4 separate regions of the Homo sapiens genome follow, and all the other regions are linked to region 1. The links are contacts of gene promoters, found by promoter capture Hi-C in blood cells and fetal thymus (Javierre and others, 2016). All regions are on one chromosome and are shown on one strand. Each heading gives the region's core, a stretch centred on a gene start or on the middle of the fragment in contact. The rest is flanking DNA. Distances are from core to core; before and after follow the strand shown.

What was found. Contacts are between HindIII fragments. The CHiCAGO score rates a contact against its expected background, and 5 or more counts as called.
Region 2: a fragment that was not itself captured here is called in contact with the fragment with the promoter of DHRSX in region 1 in 1 of 17 cell types (neutrophils); the score reaches 7.0 in neutrophils.
Region 3: a contact is called between a fragment that was not itself captured here and the fragment with the promoter of DHRSX in region 1, in 1 of 17 cell types (neutrophils). The highest score is 6.5, in neutrophils.
Region 4: a contact is called between a fragment that was not itself captured here and the fragment with the promoter of DHRSX in region 1, in 1 of 17 cell types (neutrophils). The highest score is 5.5, in neutrophils.

Annotation. Positions count from the first base shown.
Region 1 is chrX:2,499,658-2,502,519 of GRCh38, reverse strand. It overlaps DHRSX (dehydrogenase/reductase X-linked), which reads left to right and starts at 1,544. Exons shown (of 7, transcript NM_145177.3): 1 at 1,544-1,703. The coding sequence starts at 1,595. ZBED1 (zinc finger BED-type containing 1) reads left to right here and starts at 1,544. Exons shown (of 2, transcript NM_001171136.2): 1 at 1,544-1,703. The HindIII fragment of the contact is 4,150 bases long and covers 1-2,862 here.
Region 2 is chrX:2,304,429-2,307,204 of GRCh38, reverse strand. The region is part of intron 3 of DHRSX (dehydrogenase/reductase X-linked); the gene reads left to right. Among named protein-coding and RNA genes, the nearest start is that of DHRSX, 200 kb to the left of the region's middle. The HindIII fragment of the contact is 6,213 bases long and covers 1-2,776 here.
Region 3 is chrX:2,341,623-2,344,430 of GRCh38, reverse strand. All of the region lies in intron 3 of DHRSX (dehydrogenase/reductase X-linked), which reads left to right. Among named protein-coding and RNA genes, the nearest start is that of DHRSX, 160 kb to the left of the region's middle. The HindIII fragment of the contact is 1,642 bases long and covers 676-2,317 here.
Region 4 is chrX:2,284,127-2,287,068 of GRCh38, reverse strand. The region is part of intron 4 of DHRSX (dehydrogenase/reductase X-linked); the gene reads left to right. Among named protein-coding and RNA genes, the nearest start is that of DHRSX, 220 kb to the left of the region's middle. The HindIII fragment of the contact is 331 bases long and covers 1,189-1,519 here.

The DNA.
Region 1 (2,862 bases), core at 295-2,794:
GGGGTCTGCTGTCCCAGTAGGGATCAGGGTGGGGAGGGGGCTCGTGGTCCCTGAAGTAGTCTGGAGTTCTCTGCAGGGGCCGGGAAGGGGGTCTGTGATCCCTGCAGGGTTGTTGGGGGCAGGGAAGTGGAGGGGTAGGTTTGGTGGGTGGTGTCTGTGGCCTGGCAGGAATTGGGGTGGGGTCTGTGGTCTCAGTAGGAACTGGGGTGTGGGGTCCGTGCTTGGGGCAGGTTCTGTGGTGTCAGCAGGAACTGGGGTGTGGGGTCCGTGCTTGGGGCAGGTTCTGTGGTGTCAGTACGAATTAGGGTGTGGGGTCCATGGTCCTTACAGCTGTTCAGAGTCCTCTGTGGGAGTCCTGGTCCATAATCCTGGCATGGCTCTGGGTGGTTGTCTGGGGTTCCCTATGGGGTCCAAGTCCTTGTGGTCCCTGCTGAGGTCTGCGTGGGGTTACATGATTCTGGCTAAGATGGGGAGGGTGGTTCCCGTGGTGGTCCTGGTCCCCTGCAGGGTCTGGGTAGGGGATCTGTGATCCCATGGTGGGGGTCCTGGCTGGGGCTTGAATGGGGTTCCATGGTCTTGGCTGGAGTGTGGGGTCTTGGAGAGGCAGTCCAGCTGGGGTCTGTAGTCCTGGGGGGCGTCCTGGCAGGGGTCTGTGGTCTTGTGGGGTGCTGGCTGGGGCCTGTGGTCCGGGGGGTGGTTGTGATGGAGGTGGAGGTCCTAGAAGGGGGCCCCAGTAGGGGTCTGTGATCCTGGAGAGGGGTCCTGGTGGTGGGGGTCCCAGTGGAGGTCTGTGGTCCTGGGGGGCCCTGGGAGGATCTGTGGTACTGGGGAGTCCTGGTGGAGGTCTGTAGTCCTGGTGGGGTTCTTGGTGGGGTGTCTGGGCGTGCCCCAGTGGGGGGGCCTGTGGTCTTGGGGGTCCCAGCAGGGGTCTGGGGTCCTGGGGGGTGTTCTTGGGAGGAGTCTATGGATCTGACTTGGGTGCTGGCTGGGGTCTGTAGTCCTGGGGGCGTCCTGGCTGGGGCTGTTGGTCTTGTGGTGGTGGGGATCCCTGCTGGGGTCTGCAGTCCTGCCGGGAGGGGGAAGGGTCCCTGCTGGGGTCTGTGGTCCTGGAGGAGGTGTGGAGGGTCCCTGCTGGGGTCTGTGGTCCTGGGGGGGATTCCTGGCTGGGGTCTGTGGTCCTGGCTGGGGGTGTGTGTGGGGGGTCCCTGCTGGGGTCTGTGGTCCTGAAGGGGGGGTCCTGACTGGGGTCAGTGGTCCTGGGGGCGTCCTGGCTGGGGTCTGTGGTCCTGGGGGGGGGGGTCCTGGCTGAAGTCTATGGTCCTTGCAGGGGGGGGTTCCTGGCTGGAGTCTGTGGTCCTGGGGGGGGTGTCCTGGCTGGGGTCGGTTGTCCGCTCGGGGTCCCCAGTCCTGCAGGCGGTGCGGGATCCCAGAGGGCCCGGGCGGGGTCTGGGGTTGGGGGTTCCCCGCAGGCCGGGGCGGTTCGGGGCGGGCAGGGGGCGGTCCGGGGCGCGCGCGTTTCCGCCGTCCGTCCGGGCGGGCGGGCGCAGAGTCCCGCGGGCGGCGCGGAAGCGGCGGCGGCGCGGCCGGGGCAGCCATGTCGCCATTGTCTGCGGCGCGGGCGGCCCTGCGGGTCTACGCGGTAGGCGCCGCGGTGATCCTGGCGCAGCTGCTGCGGCGCTGCCGCGGGGGCTTCCTGGAGCCAGGTCAGCGGGGCGGGGCAGGGGTCAGGGCTCCGGGGACCCGGGTGGGCGCGGGCTGGCTCGGGGGCGGGGGCGCGGGGGCTCCGCGTGACCTTGGCGAGGCGGTGGCGCTCCCGGAAGTGGGGCTGGGCGGGGGTCGAGGTGTGGCCGGGGGTGGGGGGGGGGCGGCGTGCGCGCTGGGACCTCCCCGCCCCGCGCTTTCCGTCCCCGCCGGCTCTTCTGCGCGCCTGGCCCGGCCCGACCCGGCCCGACCCTTCCCTCCCCGCGCGTGTGGCCTCCCCGCCTGTCCCGGGTCGGGCTCCAACCAAGCAGCCCCCGTGCAGCCGCCCCCCCGCGCACCCTGACACCTCCGGGCCATGGCCGGGGACCCGGGGGCTCGCACGCCCCGCGCCCAAGACATCAGGCGGCTCTGCCTGCCGCCTGCGGTCGGCCAGTGACCGCGCGCCCCCGCCAGGCCCCGGAGGGGAGGAGCGGGCGTCCCAGGGACCTCGACCCCTACCCACCCCAGGGTAAGTGAGGATGGGCCCTTCTCCGGAGGACGTCTCCAGAGGGGGCCCAGAGGCGGCTTCTCGGGCACTGGGGAGCCACGGAGGTCTGGTGGGGAGGGCAGGCCCGTTAAGTGGCAACTTTGTTTCCTTGGCCTTTGTAAACATCTCTGAGTCACAGATCTCCAACTTTGCAGGACTCGTTCACTGTCTGAACTCATCAGTGATGACCGCCACTGTGTTTTGTGTATGCAGATAACTTCTGTTCCTAGATTTGCAGGTTCAGAATTTATTATTATTATTATTTTTTGTAATAGGAAGTAGAGATGAAGTCTTGCTCTGTTGCCGAGGCTACTCTCGAACTCCTGGGCTCAAGCAGTCCTCCTGCCTCAGCCTCCCAAAGTGCTGGCATTACAGGCACCAGCTACTGCATCCGACTAATGTTTTAAAGTTTTGTAGACGGGGTCTTGCTATGTTGCTCAGGCTGGTCTCGAACTCCTGGGCTCAAGCGATCTTCCTTCCTTTGCCTCCCAAACTGTTGGGATTACAGGTGTGAGCCACCACACCTGTCTAATGTTTTAATTTTTTTGTGTAGCAATAGGGTCTTGCTACGTTGCCCAGGCTGGTCTGAAACTCATGGGCCGAAGCAATCCTCCTACCTGGGTCCCCCAAAGTGC
Region 2 (2,776 bases), core at 65-2,564, 200 kb after region 1:
GTTAATTCACTTAGGATAATGGCCTCCAGCTGCATCTGTGTTGCTGCTAAAAACATGATTTCATTCTTTTTTATGGCTCTATACTATTCTACGGTATATATGCAGCAACTACATTTTCTTCATCCAACACATAATTGATGGACACCTGGGCTGATTCCCTCATGCCTCCCAAGATTGAATCAGGAAGAAATCAGATCCAGAACAGACTCATTTCATGACAAGTTATGAAATTGAATCAGTAATTTACAAAAACCTATCAATCAAAAAAAAAAAAAAAAGCCCCAAGACCAGACAAATTCACAGCTGAATTCGACCAGATGTACAAAGAAGAGCTGGTTCCAATCTGACTGAAACGATTCTAAAAAATTGAGGCGGAGGGATTCCTCCCTAACTTATTCTACAAAACCTGTATCATCTTGATACCAAAATCTGACAAGGACACGACAAAAATAGAAAACTACAGGCCAATATCCCAGATGAAGATAGACGCACAAATGCTCAACCACATACTAGCAAACAGAATCCAGCAGTGCGTCAAAAAGATGACTGATCATCGAAACCTTGTCTCTACTACAAATACAAAAATTAGCCAGGCGTGGTGGTGCGCGTCTGTAATCCCAGCTACTTGGGAGGCTGAATCGCTTGAACCTGGCGGGTGGAGGTTGCAGTGAGCCAAGATCGCACCACTGCGCTCCAGCCTGGGCAACAGAGCAAGACTCTGCCTCAAAAAAAAAAAAAAAAGATAATTGATCGCAATCTTAATTGTGGGCTTCATTCCTGCTCTGCTCTTTGTCCAAAGAGATTTTTCTGAATGTCAGGGGTGAAGTTCAAGTTCTAGCACCCAGTGAGCATTCTGCCTTCCCCTGCTGCAGGGCTTGATGTATCGGCTCATCTTCCCCTAGTGATGCCAGCCATACCCTGTTCCCCTTACCCTTCCTACCAGTGTTTCTCTTGGTGCGAGGTAGCTCCTGAATGGATGCAAAAAAAAAAAGATGCTGATTGCAAGAATGAGCAAAGCCCGTTGGTTGCCTGTATTACTCCGTTCTCACACTGCTCTGAAGAAATACCTGAGACTGGGTAATTTTTAAAAATTTTAAGTTCCGGGTACATATGCAGGATTGTACATAGATAAACATGTGCCGTGGTGGTTTGCTGCACCTATCAACCCATCACTTAAGTATTAAAGCCCAGCATGAGTTAGCTATTCTTTTTATTATTGTACTTTAAGTTCTGGGGTACATGTGCAGAACATGCAGGTTTGTTATATAGGTATAGACGTGCCATGGTGGTTTGCTGCACCCATCAACTCGTTATCTACATTAGGTATTTCTTTTAAAGCTATCTCTCCCCTTGCCCCCCACCCCCCAACAGGCCCCAGTGTGTGATGTTCCCCTCCCTGTGTCCCTGTGTTCTCATTGCTCAACTCCCACTTAAGAGTGAGAACATGTGGTGTTTAGTTTTCTGTTCTTGTGTTAGTTTGCTGAGAATGATGGTTTCCAGATTCATCCGTGTCCCTGCAAAGCACATGAACTCATCCTTTTTAATGTCTGCATAGTAGTCCATGGTGTCTATGTGCCACATTTTCTTTATTCAGTCTATCAATGACGGGCATTTGCGTTGGTTCCAAGTCTTTAATATTGTGAACAGTGCTGCAGTAAACACACATGTGCATGTGTCTTTATAGTAGGATGATTTATAATCCTTTGGGTATATACCCAGTCATGGGATTGCTGGGTCAAATGGTATTTCTGGTTCTAGATCCTTGAGGAATCGCCACAGTGTCTTCCACAATGGTTGAACTAACTTCCACTCTCACCAACAGTGTAAAAGCATTCCTGTTTCTCCACATCCTCTCCAGCATCTGTTGTTTCCTGATTTTTTAATGATCGCCCTTCTAACTGATGTGAGGTGGTATCTCATTGTGGTTTTGATTTGTACTTCACTACTGAGCAGGCATTAGCTATTTTTCCTGATGCTCTCCCCCTCCCTGACCCCCACCCACAACACGCCCCAGTGTGTGTTGTTCCCCTCCCTGTATCCATGTGTTCTCATTGTTAAGCACCCACTTATGAGTGAGAGTGTACAGTGTTTGGTTTTCTGTTCCTGCATTAGTTTGCCAAGAATAATGGCTTCTAGCTCCATCCATGTCCCTGCAAAGGACATGATCTCGTTCCTTTTTATGGCTGCATAGTATTCCACGGTGTATATGTACCATTTTTTTTAATCCAGTCTATCATTCTTGGGCATTTGAGTTGATTCCACATCCTTGCTATTGTGAATAGTGCTGCAATGAACATATGTGTGCCTGTATCTTTATAATAGAATGATTTCTATTTATTTGGATATATACCTAGTAATGGGATTGCTGGGTCAAATGGTGTTTCTGGTTCTAGGTCTTTGAGGAATTGCTACACTGAGACTGGGTAATTTATAAAGAAAAGAAGTTTAATTGGCTCATGGATCTGCAGGCTGTACGGGAAGCAGAGCAGCTTCTGCTTCTAGGGAGGCATGAGGAAATGCATAATCATAGTGGAAAGTGAAGGAAAGCAGGTGTCTTACATGGCCCTAGCAAGAGAAGGAGAGACAGAGGTGCAGTTGGGGTGGGCTGGGGAGATGCTACACACTTTTCAACAACCAGATGCCACGAGAACTCATTCACTATTGCAAGCACAGCACCCAGGGGATGGCACTAAACTATTCCTGAGACATCCACCCCCGTGACCCAATCTCCCCCTACAAGGGTCCACCTCCAGCACTGGGGATTCCAATTCAACTT
Region 3 (2,808 bases), core at 247-2,746, 160 kb after region 1:
TCTTCCACAATGGTTGAACTAATTTACACTCTCAATAACAGTGTAAAAGCGTTCCTATTTCTCCACATCCTCTCCAGCATCTCTCGTTTCCTGACTTTTTTAGTGATCGCCATTCTAACTGGCATAAGTTGGTATTTCATTGTGGTTTTGATTTGCATTTCTCTAATGACCCGTGATGATGGGCTAAAAATTCAGAGAAAATGTAATAAAATGTTTAATCTAGCTCAAGTATCCTTCCTTTGTTGAATCAGTTTTCACCTTTTCTGTCTTTCCTGCTGGCTGGCTTGCTGGAGCCCGCTCTCATGAGTGGTGCAAGGTCAGAGATAGAAAACCAGGCCCATGTATGGTTGTGTCTTTTCACAAGTTCAGCCTTTTATTGATGCTATTTCAGTTTACAGAAGCCCCAAGATGCACGGAGTTTTCAAGGAGGCAATTCTCCTTAGGACTTCCCATTTAGTACTGAAATGGCTTGAGCCCTTGGAGTACTGGAGCCTGTGTGCCGGCAGCATTTAGTCAGAGCTACAGGCGCACAGGCTCCTGCTGTGACCCAAGTCAGTCAGTATTGCAACCTATACATACTAATACACTTCACCAATATATGCATGTTATAGATTAAACATTCTACATCAAACAACGTAACATTTATCATCAAGAGAAAAGGGGTAGGAAAAAGCTTAACAAAGGAGCACAGGGATATTGATGTGGACAAAAAAAAGTCTCCTGGCCTGGCCCTGGAGGGCCATCAGTGGTCGCCATCTTGCAAGGAAGAGCCTTTGATATCAGTGGGGCAGAGCCTTTTGCGGTGGATGCTGCGTAATGATTACAAGTGACAGCAAGATGGCATCTGTTAAGGTAGCCATTTGGAGCTGCTGAAGCCCTGTTCTTTCATGACCACAGAGTCCTCTGGTGAGGATTGACAATGGAAGAGGGTGTTTGGTTGTGTCCTTAACTGTTTGGATGTGGTCTTTATTGATCAGGTGAACATCTGGCTCCTGTAGGCATGATGCCTTTTGAATGAAATGTAACATGGAATCTTTTTCTAAGGTGGAGTCACTTATGTCAAGCGTGCTCTACACACTCACTGTAAGAATTAAAGAGGAAAGAAGCATGAAATGTCACTTGACAGTTAAACACAGGTTTATTTTAGAGAAACCTGAGAGGGGCTTCTGGCTGAGTTAGGTCAGAGCTCTTCTCTCTTATAGACTAAGCACATTTAAGGGTTTTGGAAGGGGGTGCTTATCATAGGTTCAGAATGTTTGTATGTGAGGGAGAGTTTATTGCAGGGTTGAATATCTCTGGTCAGAGGGGAGGCTGTCTCAGGGTTGGTATGTTTTTGGTCGGAGACGGGTTTATCTTAGGGTTGGAATGTTTCTGGTTATGCTGACATGAGTCATGAGGCTGATGTTTTCGGGCTGGATTTAGGCGGTTTTTAATCAAGGGGAGCCTAGAATGGTGGTGTTTGTTCAAGATGGCCATGCTCCCGCTCTGTCACCCACAACCTGAAGACCGTTATCATATTGATTTTGTATCTCCTGTGCGTACCTGATGGAGAATGACTGAATGTTTGAATTAAAAGACTCAGGGAGAAGGCAAAGTTGTGTTTAAGTTGCAAGTTGAAAAAAACAATCCATTGGCTCTGTTAGCAGCTATTAGAGAGGTTGGGGCGGGAGCAGAGTCTGTAGCTTAACTTTGCTTTTGTTATGTCGATGCTATGAGCGTGGGAATCATGGAAACTGTGAATAAATGGAAGAGAGTCTGTCAGTGACCTACTGCTGCATCTTGGGCCAGCCCAGGCATCCGTGAGTGTTCAGGGAGACCTCGGGAGAGTTCTCAGGCAGAAACTAGCCACTCACATGCTTGTCATCTGCGGGGTTGACATGGTGGGCTATTTTTATGCTCAGACACTTGGGAGAAAGGGCAGGCTGTACCCAAAGGCAGATAAGTGCTGGCCAGATGGGCTTGCTGGGCACCGTCGAACTCATGGTCACCGTCCTGCCCAGGAGCTAGAAATAGAACTAGCCCCGGGACAATCCGTGAGGTATCAGGTGAGTATGGCCCGATACATGTGACTCAGAGACACAAGGAGTGAGGGTGTGTGCTCTGTCTCAATGAGAGAAGAGAGAAGTCAGGGCTTGCTTTGGCAACACCAAATGCAGATATCAGACTCCTATTCAGAAACCAGAATTCTCATCTCAGCATTTATTTTCTGGATATGTGGCCGACAGATAGGCATCTCTGTTTATAATGCCTTTAATTTTGATCTTGACAAGGACTAGAGGAAGCTCTTACTGAACCTTCACGCCCACAAACAAAAGCTTCTAAATCGGCCGGGCGAGGTGGCTCACGCCTGTAATCCCAGCACATTGGGAGGCCGAGGCGGACAGATCACCTGAGGTCAGGGGTTTGAAACCAGCCTGGCCAACATGGTGAAACCCCATGTCTACTAAAAATACAAAAAATTAGCCGGGAGTGGTAGCGGGCATCTGTAGTCCCAGATACTTGGGAGGCTAAGGCAGGAGAGTTACTTGAACCCAGGAGGTAGAGGTTGCGGTGAGCTGACATCACGCCATTGCGCTCCAGCCTGGGCAGTAAGAGTGAAACTCCATTTAAAAACAAAACAAAACAAACAAAAAAACTTCTAAATCACATTCAGGAAGCATTTTGTAATATTTTATTTCTTATCAGGGAGCATTTTGTAATATTTTATTTCTTCTCAACCCCTGTAGTGGATTGAATGGTGCCTCTATTTTACCCCCACCCCCACCAAAAAAAAAAAAAAGACAAGTTCACCTTGAATCTGTACATGTG
Region 4 (2,942 bases), core at 105-2,604, 220 kb after region 1:
TGGACCAATAATCATTCTGTGAAATGTTCTGCCTTAGAAAACACACCTCTTGCAATGTGACAACACAGTCTTGTAAAGTACAGAGAAGATTGCACCCCAAGTCACACGCCTCCCTGGAATTCCCCAGCCTGTGCTGCTCAGAACACCATTTCCAGGAGGTGATAATGAGAATCCATTTGTTACAAGATGATGGCTTGAAATAACACTTTGCACTTTCTTCCTTTTATCTTTTTGTTCTACATCTTTCAAGAGGTTGCTCAGGCTGTGGCTTTCCTGGACTCCCTATAGGTTTTTGTGGCTGACTAAGGTTCATCTTGTCCCTGGGGTCACTGTTGAGAAGAGCTCAGTTGCAGAGGATCTGGATTTTTTTTTTTTTCCTCTGTGGGTACAGACAGAAGCTTCTAGAAAAGAGCTGGAGACTTCGCTTTTGGAGGCTGTGTTGAATACCCATTGCCCACTCTTCACAAGAAGACAGAAATGCAGAGAGGCAGTCTCTTGTTGACAAATCCTCTTGGTTCTCTTGGAAATGCAACAGAACCATGGAGCTTCGTGAAGCCCATGGGCTTGGAAAGGGGCCTCCCGAGGTACCCAGGGTGGATGGAAAGCTGCAGGGATAAGTGCTCCTCAAGCCAGAAGTAGCCCAGATGGCACAGTCTATGCTGAGAATGGATTCATCACCAGCCTGTGTGCTGGAGGCTTGGGCCAGATGAACCTTGATTTAGAGAGGAAGTAAAGCATTTTTTGCCTTGGTTTGTGCATCAGAATTCATCTTCATGGTGTGCAAATGACGAGGCTGGATTCTATACAGTCAGCACTGAGAATGGATTCAGCACAAGCCCGTGTGCTGGAGGCCTGGGTCTGATGTACCTGGATTTAGGGAAGAAGCAAAGTATTTTTCTCATTTATTGCATGCCTTAGTTTGTGCATCAGAATTCATCTTCGTGGTGTGCAAATGAGAAGGCTGGATTCTACACAGTCAGCGTTGAGAATGGATTCATCACCAGCTCTTGTGCTGGAGGCTTGAGCCAGATGTACGTTGATTTAGAGAAGAAGTAAAGGATTTTTCTCATTTGTTGCATGCCTTGGTTTATGCATCAGAATTCATCTTCGTTGTGTGCAAATGAGAAGGCTGGATTCTATACAGTCAACGCTGAGAATGGGTTCATCACCAGCTGGTGTGCTGAAGCTTGGGCCAGATGTACCTTGACTTAGAGAAGAAATCAAGGATTTTTCTCGTTGGTTTGTGCATCAGAATTCTTCTTCGTTGTGTGCAAATGAGATTGCTGGATTGTATGTTTGGGATATTGCTGGTGTCAACTTATGTAAATAGAGTTTCTATTTATAGGCAGCCTCAGGGAAGGACTCCAGTGGTGGTACTTTTAGTGTCTAAGAGGCTAGTAGGGGGTCTGCAGACCCCTAAACCAGGGCTGTCCAACCCCCAGGTCATAGTACCAGTCCATGGCCTGTTAGGACACCGGCCGCACAGCAGAAGGTGAGTGGCAAGTGAACAAGCAAAGCTTCATCTGTATTTACAGCCACTCCCCATTGTTCACATGACTGCCTGAGCTCTGCCTCCTGTCAGATCAGCAGCAGCATTAGATTCTTATAGGAGCACAAACCCTACTGTGAACTGTGCATGTGAGGGACTTAGGTTGTGCACTCCTTATGAAAAGCTAAAGCCTGATGATCTGTGCATGGGAAGGATCTAGGTTGTGTGCTCCTTATGGAATCTAATTCCTGATGATCTGTCACTGTCTCCCATCACCCCCAGATGGGACTGTCTAGTCACAGGAAAACAAGCTCAGGGCTCCCACTGATTCTATATGATGGCGACTTGTAGAATTATTTCATTATATAGTACAATGTAATAATAATACAAATAAAGTGTACAATAAATGTCATGCCCCGGAATCATCCCAAAACCATCCCCACATTCCACCTCCACCTTCTGTCTTCAGAAAATTGTCTTTCACAAAAGTGGTCCCTGGTGCCAAAAAGGTTGGAGACTGCTGCCCTAAACTATTTCCCCAGAACCTTCCCTCCAAAACTCCTGCTAGTCAACCACGTGCCTCAAGTCTCATGGAAAACAGCCCCAGCTGAGCTCAGCCAGGGTGACTTCCAAGGCAAGAAGGAGCTACACTTCGTGCTTTTCTTTTTTTATTCTTAGAGCAATCAAGGTTTTGCAAACATTAAATACTTCAGACATAGAATATCTTTTTCATTTGCTAGTGGGTTGAAAATAGAACCTGACTGCCTCTGTCTGGCTGCTGTGGGAAGCTCAGAGGCAACGCGATGATTTATCAAGCACAAGAATAAATCAATAATAGACCTCCTGCAGAGCCGGTATTTATGGTTTATTCACTTCAAAATTGTATTTATCTAGCTTCCCATCCCCATGTCTGAAAATTGATAGATTTTTAATAATGCAGAGGATTTATAGATTTATCCTTGTCAGCCATCTTCCCATAACTCTAATGGATGAATTTCTTTCTGAGATAATGAATTACTAAGCATTATTTTTCCTACCACCAAAGAAATACGTCCACGATACAGGGTGACCCTGAAAAATAACAATGATTCTTCCCTGGCCAGAGACCTAAAGACTCTGTTTTTTGGTACAGTTCTTCATTCACCCATTCATTCATTCATTCATTCATTCATTCAAATTCATTCATTCACTTGAATGAATTCAAATGAGTGAATGAATGAATGAAAGAATTCAAATGAATGAATGAATTCAGAGGAATGAATGAATGCAAATGAATTCAAAGGAATGAACAAATGAATTCAAATGAATTAATTCTAAGGAATGAATGAATTCTAATGAATGAACAAATGAATTCAAAGGAACGAATGAATTCAAAGGACTAAATGAATTGAAAGGAATGTATGAATTCAAAGGAATGAATTCAAAGGAATGAATGAATGAATTCAAATGAGTG